Linked DNA regions of Homo sapiens: regions 1 and 2 are each linked to region 3. The links are contacts of gene promoters, found by promoter capture Hi-C in human tissues and cell types (Jung and others, 2019). All regions are on one chromosome and are shown on one strand. Each heading gives the region's core, a stretch centred on a gene start or on the middle of the fragment in contact. The rest is flanking DNA. Distances are from core to core; before and after follow the strand shown. Region 1 has its middle 18 kb from the start of NUB1. Region 2 overlaps NUB1 (negative regulator of ubiquitin like proteins 1). Region 3 holds the start of ASIC3 (acid sensing ion channel subunit 3).

The links. Contacts are between HindIII fragments. The study calls those that stand out against the background at their distance.
Region 1: a contact is called between a fragment that was not itself captured here and the fragment with the promoter of ASIC3 in region 3, in 3 of the 25 tissues and cell types used here (adrenal gland, bladder and pancreas).
Region 2: a fragment that was not itself captured here is called in contact with the fragment with the promoter of ASIC3 in region 3 in 1 of the 25 tissues and cell types used here (neural progenitor cells).

Annotation. Positions count from the first base shown.
Region 1 is chr7:151,322,123-151,325,330 of GRCh38, forward strand. No RefSeq gene overlaps it. Among named protein-coding and RNA genes, the nearest start is that of NUB1, 18 kb to the right of the region's middle. The HindIII fragment of the contact is 5,298 bases long and covers 1-3,208 here.
Region 2 is chr7:151,361,761-151,365,094 of GRCh38, forward strand. All of the region lies in intron 8 of NUB1 (negative regulator of ubiquitin like proteins 1), which reads left to right. Among named protein-coding and RNA genes, the nearest start is that of NUB1, 22 kb to the left of the region's middle. The HindIII fragment of the contact is 4,144 bases long and covers 1-3,334 here.
Region 3 is chr7:151,046,976-151,050,358 of GRCh38, forward strand. It overlaps ASIC3 (acid sensing ion channel subunit 3), which reads left to right and starts at 1,556. Exons shown (of 11, transcript NM_004769.4): 1 at 1,556-2,444; 2 at 3,131-3,281. The coding sequence starts at 1,911. It overlaps ABCB8 (ATP binding cassette subfamily B member 8), which reads left to right. Exons shown (of 16, transcript NM_007188.5): 16 at 1-807. RefSeq lists an enhancer at 3,068-3,383. The HindIII fragment of the contact is 19,092 bases long and covers 1-3,383 here.

The DNA.
Region 1 (3,208 bases), core at 45-2,544, 270 kb after region 3:
CCCTTGCTCGCCACATTGTGGGCGAAAAGGAGAGAAGAGCTGCGGACCTTCAGGGAGCCCAGACCTGTGACTCCCTCTTTGGGGCCCTGTGGTTCCTGGCATCTCCAAGCTTCTAGGTGCCACTTCATTCCCCAGTGCCAGCCAGGGAAGCTGCTTACAGGGCCCCTGGTCCAGCTGCAGCTTTGCAGAGAGCCAGTGCCCATGCCAGCGCCTGGAGCTGCCCATCCTGTGGCAGCAGCCAGCATATCTGACTGTGCAGTGTCCGGACCCCATACTCACTCATACACCCCTTGCCGCTCCACACCTGACTTGCAGTCTTCTTGGAGGCATGGGATCCAGGCTGCTGGCATGAGCTGAGTGCAGCCGGTCAGGCCGAGTGGGCAGAAAGAGCCCCGTGGGCTTGAGCAAAACTCAGCCAAAGGTGCCATGAGCCACAGGTTTCCGACCAGAAAAGCGACACCTCAAGGATCCCATACACGATCAAGAGCTTATGGAATGAACCCAGGTGTGAAATGACAAACTGGATTTGACTGTAGACAGAGCAAAAAGAGAGAGAGCAAAACACCAAGAACTGTGCAATGGAAACGTGGTCAGGACTTCAGGGTTGATACATGTAGAGGATGAATAGGGGAACTGGTTCAGTGCAACGCAACTGATAATAGTGGGCCCTGGATACCGGAGAAGTCTGAAGTGCCCTCTGCTTTCTAAGGGACATGTTAATCAGCATATGTTCAGTGGAGTTTCAGTTATTAAGTGTAACTTATCTCCTTTCTTTGAAAATTGCTAGGCCTTGTGTACTGAAGAGGAGGAGGCTTTACTGAGGGAATGACAAGGTGCTCCCTCAAGCAGATCCAATTCTATTTCCAAAATATGTTGTGCAAACTCAATAGAAATGAAAATATTACTAATTATCTAGAAATTTTCCATCCCACACTCACCATTACCTCCCCCAGTCCCTGGCACCACTAATCTACTTTCTGTTTCTATGGATTTGCCTAGCCTGAACATTGCATAAGAATGGAATTATATAAAATGTGGTCTCTTTTGGTTGGCTTCTTCTACTGTTTTAAAGGTTAATTCATGTTGTAATGTGTCAGTACTTCATACCTTTTTATTGCCAAACAATATTCCATTGTATGGAAAAGAATAATGGAGTAATATTCCATTATATGGAATTTCAGTGGAGTAATATTCCATTACATGGAATATTATTGCATTCTATTAATCAGTTAATGAGCATTTGGATAGTTTTCACTTTTTAACTATTATGAATAATGCTGCCGTGAACATTAGTGTATAAGTTTTTGTGTTAGAACATAAGTTTTCAATTCTCTGGGGCATATGACTACGAGTGGAATTGGTGGGTCATATGGTAACTCTAAGTTTAACCTTTGGAAGAAACGCCAAACTGTTTTTCATAGCAGCTGTATCATTTTGTTCTTACCAGCAATGTTTAAGGATTCTGATTTCTCCAAATTTTCACCTACGCCTTTCCTTTTTATTCTGACCATTCTAAGGAGTGCAAAATGTTATTTCATTGTGATTTTGATTCCCAATTTCTTAATGGCTAATGATGTTGAGCATCTTTTTATGTGCTTGTTGGCCATTGTCTTCTATAGAGAAATGTCTATTCAGATCCTTTGAATATTAAAAAAGTTGGGTTGTCTTTTTATTATTTGATCTTCATTTTTATTTTTGAGATGGAGTTTCACTCTTGTCGACCAGGCTGGAGTGCAATGGCACGATCTAAACTCACTGCAACCTCCACTTCCCAGGTTCAAGCAATTCTCCTACTTCAGCCTCCTGAGCAGCTGGGATTACAGGTGCATCCCACCACACCTAGCTAATTTTTGTATTATTAGTAGAGACGGGGTTGCACTATGTTGCCCAGGCTGGTCTCGAACTCCTGACCTCAGGTGATCCACCTGCCTCAGCCTCCCAAAGTGCTGGGATTACAGGCATGAGCCACTGCACCCAGCCTATTTGATCTTTAGAGTTCTTTGTATATTCTGGATCTAAGTCCCTGCTAAGATACATGATTTGCAAATATTTTTTCCCATAGAGCGAATTGTCTTCACATTTTTTTTTGAGACAGGGTCTTGCTCTGTGCCTAGGCTGGAGTGCAGTGGCATAATCATGGCTCACAGCAGCCTCAACCTCCTGGGTTTAAGCAATCCTCCCACTTCAGCCTCCAAGGTAGCTGGGAGTACAGGCATACACCACCACAGCTGGCTAATTTTTGTATTTTTTTGTAGAGATGGGATCTCACTATGTTGCTCAAGCTCGTCTCAAACTCCTGGGCTCAAGTGATCCTCTCACCTCAGCCTCTCAAAGTGTTGGAATCACAGGCATGAGCCACAGCATGCAGCCTGTGTTCTCATTTTCTTGATGATGTCTTTAGAAGCACAAAAGTTTTAAATTTTGATAAAGTCCAACTTGCCTAATTTTTCTTTTGTCATTTGTACTTTTGGTGCCGTAGCTAAGAAACTATTTCCTTACCCAAGATCATGAAGATTTACTCATTTGTTTTCTTCTAAGAGTTTTATAGTTTTAACTCTTTTATTTAGTTCTATAATCCATCTTGAGTTAATTTTTTATATATGATATGAGGTAGGGTTCAACTTCAATCTTTTGCATATGGCTATCCAGGTAGCCCAGAACCATTTGTTGGAAAGATGGTTCTTTCCTTTATTGAACTGTGTTGGCAACTTTGTTGAAAATCAATTGACCATAAATGTGAAGGTTTATTTCAATTCTCTTCCATTTCTCTGTATCCCTATTCTAACACCAGTCTGGTACTGTATTGATTAATGTAGCTTTGCAGTAAATTTTGAACTTGGGAAGTGTCCTTTTTCAAGATTCTTTTGTTCTTTGTTCCTTTACAAGATTGTTCTGACTATTCTGAGTCTGTTGCATTTCCATATGGATTTTAGGATCAGCCTGTCAATTTCTCTGAAAAAGGCAGCTGGTATTTTGATAGAGATTGCATTGCATCTATATGTATTTTCATTCTTCTTACCTCAGCCAAAGCTATGTATAACTGAAATCTCTTACTTAATTCATCTTGCCTACTGTTCCTCTTCTACAAAAAATTTTACAGTTCAGATAAATTGGTTTACTCACATTCCAGCAAATAAAGCTTACATTTTCAATTCAACAACTTCTATTTATTGTCTACCATGTAAGGCACATGAGGTCATTTTGAGGA
Region 2 (3,334 bases), core at 64-2,563, 310 kb after region 3:
GGGAGGGGCCGGGCTGGGAATAGTGAGAATGAGGGCTGGTTTGTGCTTCTGGGGTCTCTGTCTCTGCCTCTTTCTGGATGTCAGTTTCATTCTCTTCTGCAAACAGTGTAGGGTAAACAGGCTTTAAATTAGGTCCTAAAAGTTTAGGTAAATTTTTCATTCCCTTCCATAGTTGTTTCTAATTTTTTATTATGGAAAATTTCAAATAGTCATAAAAATAAAAATTAGTATAATGAGCTTCCATATACACTCATAACTAAGCTTCTGCAGTTATAAAGACATGGTTGATCTTCATACATCTGTGTGAGCCTCCCTCAATCTTTTTATCCTGGACAAATCCTTGAAATAATTTTTAGGTCTCAGGGAACCATTGAATACAAATTTGGCTACATCTTCAGTTCATGATACATTAACATGTCCGGTAAGTGGTAGGTATAATAATGAAATAATAATTAACAATGTCTTTCTAAGTAGAGAAAGTTTTTTTTTTCCTGGGCATCTATTTATCCTGGGCATCTATTTATCCTGGCCAACTTGTTAGCATATTTTTGTGTGTGTGTGATTTCTCTCTTTTCATAAAGGAAATCAGCAGTAATGTAAGCCAAATAGAATGCAGATGGAGGAAACTTCAGTTTTTCCATTTCCTTTTCCATTTGACTTTTCCCCCTTACTTCTCCAAGTAAGCTAGAAGTTTTGTCACAACTTCCTACCATATGTCTTGGAGTATGGTATGTAGTATGACCAAGAATAGTTTCTTTCCCCAAATTGTATGAAACAGTGACTTCCTGGCAGTGCAGAACGGTGACCCTGAGGTAGGGAAACATGAGGGGAGCTCAGTGTCTGGAGAAGTTTCAGGTTACGGGGCAGGGAGGGCAAACCCAGGCAGAGCCTTGTGCTCCCTGGAGTTAAAGAGATGGAGCTGGGCTTGCAGGAGGCCAAGGAGGTGAGAGGAGCAAGCTGCCAGAGAGAGGGTGTCAGAGAGCTTCAGAGGAGCCCTTTTGAGTCTTCTGCTCAGTAATGATCAGCACATGTGTGTGAGGAAACCGCCCAGGGCTGGGCAAGGTACCACATGAAAGAAGCAGGGAATAATCCTCCGAGTTCATAGAAGGCCAGGAATAGTTTATGTTCCCACCAGCCAGAGTGGAGGATTTGGTAGTCACAGGGCGTCAAATAGAGTCTTCAGAAGGGTGTTGCCTCAGCACTAGGGCATAATTTGGTTTCACTTAACAAAGCTTAAAAGCTACTCCTGAACAGTACCCTTAACTTACCGTTTTCAAATAAGTGCATCCCTAACAAAACTCAATAATTTAGCAATTCAAAAATATCCAGCATCCACTGAAAAATTAGCAGGCATGCAAAGAAACAAGCAAATGTAACCTATAACAAGCAAAAAAATCAGTCAGTAGCAACAGATCCAGAAGTGACACAGAAGATAGAATTAGTAGACAAGGACATTAAAACAGTGACTGTAATCCATCTGCTGAAGAAGGCAGAGGAACAACTGAACATGTCAGATAAAGACATGGGAGACATTCAAAAGACCCACATTAGAATGTAAGAGATGAAAAGTACAACATCCAAGATGAAAAGTACATTAGGTGGGATGAACTGCAGAATAGACACTATAGAAGAGAAGATTAGTTAAATGTTACATAAGGCAATAGAAACTATCTGAAAAAACAGAGAAAAGGCTAAAAAAAAAAAAAAATGAACAGAGCATCTGCAAGCTGTGGCACAATTTCAGGCGGCCTAAAATGCATGTAATTGGAGTCCCTGGAAAGGCAGACATGTGGGACAGAAACAATACTTGAAGAAAAAAATGGCCATTAATTTTTCCCAGTTTGATGAAAACTATAAACCCCCAGATGCAATGACTTTAATGACCCCAAGTACAAGAAATATCAGAAAAAAACTACACTACAGCACACTATAATCCAATTCCCTAAAACCAGTAATAAAATTGAAAATGACTTTTTAGCTAACCTTTCTTGAAAAAAGTTAGGTAAGTTTGGCTTATTTTTTTATTTTATTTTTTCAGACGGAGTCTCACTCTGTCGCCCAGGCTGTAGTGCAGTGACGCAATCTTAGTTTACTGCAATCTCCGCCCACTGTAACCTCTGCCTCCTGGGTTCAAGCGATTCTCCTGCCTCAGCCTCTCAAGTAGCTGGGATTACAGGTGCCCACTACCACTCCCGACTAGTTTTTGTATTTTTAGTAGAGACGGGGTTTCACTATGTTGGCCAGGATGGTCTTGAACTCCTGACGTCAGGTGATCCGTCCGCCTCAGCCTCCCAAAGTGCTGGGATTACAGGTGTGAGCCACCGCGCCTGGCCTAAAATTTTTATGTTAAATAAATATTAATTTCAAGAAAGGTAAGCCTGGCCGGGCGCGGTGGCTCACGCCTGTAATCCCAACACTATGGGAGGCCGAGGCAGGCAGATCACGAGGTCAGGAGATCAGACCATCCTGGCTAACAGGGCGAAACCCCGTCTCTACTAAAAATACAAAAAATTAGCCGGGCATGGTGGCAGGCGCCTGTAGTCCCAGCTACTTGAGAGGCTGAGGCAGGAGAATGGCAGGAACCCGGGAGGCGAAGCTTGCAGTGAGCCGAGATTGCACCACTGCACTCCAGCCTGGAGGAGAGAGCGAGACTCCGTCTCAAAAACAAAAACAAAAAAAAACAAAAAAAAAAACAAAAAAACTGTAAGACAAACATAATAAATTTCTGTTAAATAACCGACTTAAGCTCAAATGGGATTTAATTTTTGTTGTTGTTGTTTTTGAGACGGAGTCTCGCTCTGTCGCCCACGCTGGAGTGCAATGGCACGATCTCGGCTCACTGCAACCTCCGCCTCCTGGGTTCAAGCAATTCTCCCACCTCAGCCTCCCGAGTAGCTGGGATTACAGGCACCCGCCATCATGCCCCGCTAATTTTTGTAGAAATGGGGTTTCACCATGTTGGCCAGGCTGGTCTTGACCCTCTGACCTCAGGTGATCTGCCCGCCTCGGCCTCCCAAAGTGCTGGGATTACAAGCGTGAGCCACTGTGCCTGGCCAGGATTTAATTTTTTGAAAGCTAGGCTCAGTAGATTTTATTTAAATAAATATTTTACGTTTATTTTAATATCGTCAGCATGAAAATGTAACAGTGTTGAATATTAATGCTACTAAAATTGTAAACCAAAGCAATGTTAATAAAAGTACACTCTAAATGAAATTTTTTATTTTTATAATTTTTTTTTTTTCTTTAGAGACAGAGTCTCTATGTTGTTCAGGCTGGTCTCAAACTCTTGGGTTCAAGTGATTTTCCTGCCTCGGCCTCCCAAAGTGCTGAG
Region 3 (3,383 bases), core at 306-2,805:
AGCCTGGGGCTGGTTCACAGCTAAACCCCTCCTTAGGGCAGCCCAGAGTAGGGCCTCAGCTGGCAAGTCCACAAGCCCTGCTGGGGCCCTGCTTGTTGGCCTGACCCCTCCCTCACCAGGCAGCCAGCCAAGGTGGTTCCTGCTTCACCCACTCAGTCATCAGCCTCAGGCTGCCCAAAATGCCTCTGACACCAGATTTATATCTTCTGGGCGGCTTCTTTAAATCCAGCCCTTCACCCGCCCCCTAGAGAAGCAGTGAAACCCCTTGGCTAGTCCAGCTGGAAGAGCTAGACCGCAGGAGCCGCGCCGTCTTCCTAACCTCGCCTCGGCCTTCGCTCCACAGTGGAGAGTGGGAGCCTAGCTGTGCTTGATGCTGAATGCCTGTTTTGAGAGTGTGAGTGGGATCATCTACAGTAAATACTTGCAAAGCATGGCACTGTGGCTCTGGGGAGCTGGTACGCCTGTGCTGTAACCATGGTACTCAGTCCTTCCAAAGTGTTTATTAATCAAGCACCTGTCATGTGCCATTGAGCCCACGATGGGGAATGAGGACAGTCCCTGCCCCCATGAAGCTTGTGTCCTGTTGGGAGGACAGACAGGTGGCCCAGCAGTTGCAGCATGGTGTGTGCACACGTTTGGCTGGTGGAACCATGTTTCTACCACTCATGGTCAAAAAAAGCCCACCAAAGTCCTGGGAGTTCACATCTGTGTGATGATACGGCAACATTGTTTGTAATGGAAAGACTGGACACCCCCAGTGCCCATCAGTGGGGGAGTCATTAAATAAACTATGGTATGTGCACATAATGGGTGGTATGCAGCCCTTTGGAAAAATGTAGGTTTTCCAGGTCCTGGATATAGCAGCGTAAGATGGGAAATCACAGAATACCCATGTTGTGCCTGAGATGGCAGGTGGGGTACCCGTGGTACCCGGGAGGGTGGCAGGTGGGGCACCCATGTTCTACCTGGGGTGGCAGGTGAGCCCATAACCATTGTAGAGGCCAACATCCTCAGAGGCCTGAGTGTGGGGAGGTAGGCTTTGACTCCCTAGGGAGAGAGGGACACTTAGGAAACAGACGGGCCCTGGAAGTGGGACATGAAGAGTGCCCTGGCCATCCAGTGTAGGCTGAGATGCTAGGGGCACAGAAAGAAGAGATCTGCTGATGCCAGCCTTCCAACCATTTCCCAGCTTGGCCAAGAGCCAGCTCTGGTATTCGTGAAGGAACAGATCCTGGGTGAAGCTAGAGGGAAGGCCGCAGAGGCAAAAGGAGAGAGGAGCTAGGCCAGGGGTCAGCGACTGACCCTCGCGGCCAGTGTACAGGGGTTGCAACTGGGAGCCTAGGGGGCCCCAAGGCATCTCCAGGCCCAATCTACCTCTGGGCTTTTCTCAAGCTCTCCCTAGGATTACTGCGGTTTCCTCCTGGCGCCTCTCGTCTTGGACAGCCATGCCCCCCTCCATGCTGCACTAATGGCTCAGCCTGGGGCCCTAGGGACCTCTCCTACCCCCCAGACTGCTCTGTCGGCCCCCTTTCCCCCCTACTGCTGAAACCCAATCCTCTGCAGCAGCGCCGGCTCAGCACCGCCGGCTCAGCACCGCTCCGCAGCCCCTGCCTGCCACGGTCAGCTACGTCCCACCTGGTCTGCTGCGGAGTCCCCAGCCCAGTGCCTAGCCCAGTGGAGCCACCGCCTGTTCCTCGGGAAGGAACAGTGGGACCTGACCGGCCAGATCACCTCCTCCAATCCTGCCAGGCTAGTGCCTCCCTGCCTTCCAACCTTGGCTGTCTCCCACCCTCTCTTCTCCTCTCCTTGCCTGGCCTCCTGAATCCTATCTTAGCCTCCTTAGCCCCCTGACTGACTCTCTCTCGCTTCTTCCAAGCCTCTGTAGCTGGTTCCGCTCCTGGGTTCTGGCCATGAAGCCCACCTCAGGCCCAGAGGAGGCCCGGCGGCCAGCCTCGGACATCCGCGTGTTCGCCAGCAACTGCTCGATGCACGGGCTGGGCCACGTCTTCGGGCCAGGCAGCCTGAGCCTGCGCCGGGGGATGTGGGCAGCGGCCGTGGTCCTGTCAGTGGCCACCTTCCTCTACCAGGTGGCTGAGAGGGTGCGCTACTACAGGGAGTTCCACCACCAGACTGCCCTGGATGAGCGAGAAAGCCACCGGCTCATCTTCCCGGCTGTCACCCTGTGCAACATCAACCCACTGCGCCGCTCGCGCCTAACGCCCAACGACCTGCACTGGGCTGGGTCTGCGCTGCTGGGCCTGGATCCCGCAGAGCACGCCGCCTTCCTGCGCGCCCTGGGCCGGCCCCCTGCACCGCCCGGCTTCATGCCCAGTCCCACCTTTGACATGGCGCAACTCTATGCCCGTGCTGGGCACTCCCTGGATGACATGCTGCTGGACTGTCGCTTCCGTGGCCAACCTTGTGGGCCTGAGAACTTCACCACGGTGAGCTGACCTCCCTACCTATCCTGCCAGGGACCCAGAGAGCCGACCAGTCCCTGCCCAGCACCCACAATTCCCTAGCCAGCACAGGCTCCCCCAAAGCCAGGGGACCTCTTCCTTCCTACCAGCCATGGACTCCCCACCCCCCAGTGCCACTCCGTGCAGCCCAGGAAGCTGTCCTCCTTGGGGCTTTCTCTGTCTCCCAGCCCGAGGGGAGCATGTGAGGCCACACTGACCCCGGCTGGCCCTAGGCCTGAGGTCTGGCCCAGGGAGGCCCTGCTCCTGGGGCTGGGGGTCCTCCATGGTGGGACCATTCTGGGGCAGAAGACCCCTATCTCTGCCAGGAGGTGGGGGGGGCTTGCTTTCCCTCTGCCTTTTCAACATACTGCCAGCCCCGGAGGACAGCCACAGGGGCCCATTTCCTTTTCCTGCAGTTCCCAGAGAAACACAGAAAAACCTGTAGGCTGTGCCCTGGGCTTTGGTGGGGATTGGCGGGGTGGAGGAGCTGAGTTGATGGGCTCCCAAGAGCGTCCTGCAACATGTGCCCACTGGAGCGTGGGGCTGGGGGCATTGAGATGCGGGCTTCAGTATTCAAAGAAGAGACGCAAACATACCATGAGGTGGGGAGAGGTCCCATGACCATGTGCCTGCCTGGGGGAGATGGCCATCACCCTGTCTGCCCGCCCCAGATCTTCACCCGGATGGGAAAGTGCTACACATTTAACTCTGGCGCTGATGGGGCAGAGCTGCTCACCACTACTAGGGGTGGCATGGGCAATGGGCTGGACATCATGCTGGACGTGCAGCAGGAGGAATATCTACCTGTGTGGAGGGACAATGGTAGGGAGCACACAAATGAGGCTGGGGGAGGGCACGGATGGAGTGCAAAAGGCTAGGGGAAGGAGAGGAGGAGAGGAGGTGTCAGGGTGTTCCCCCAGAACC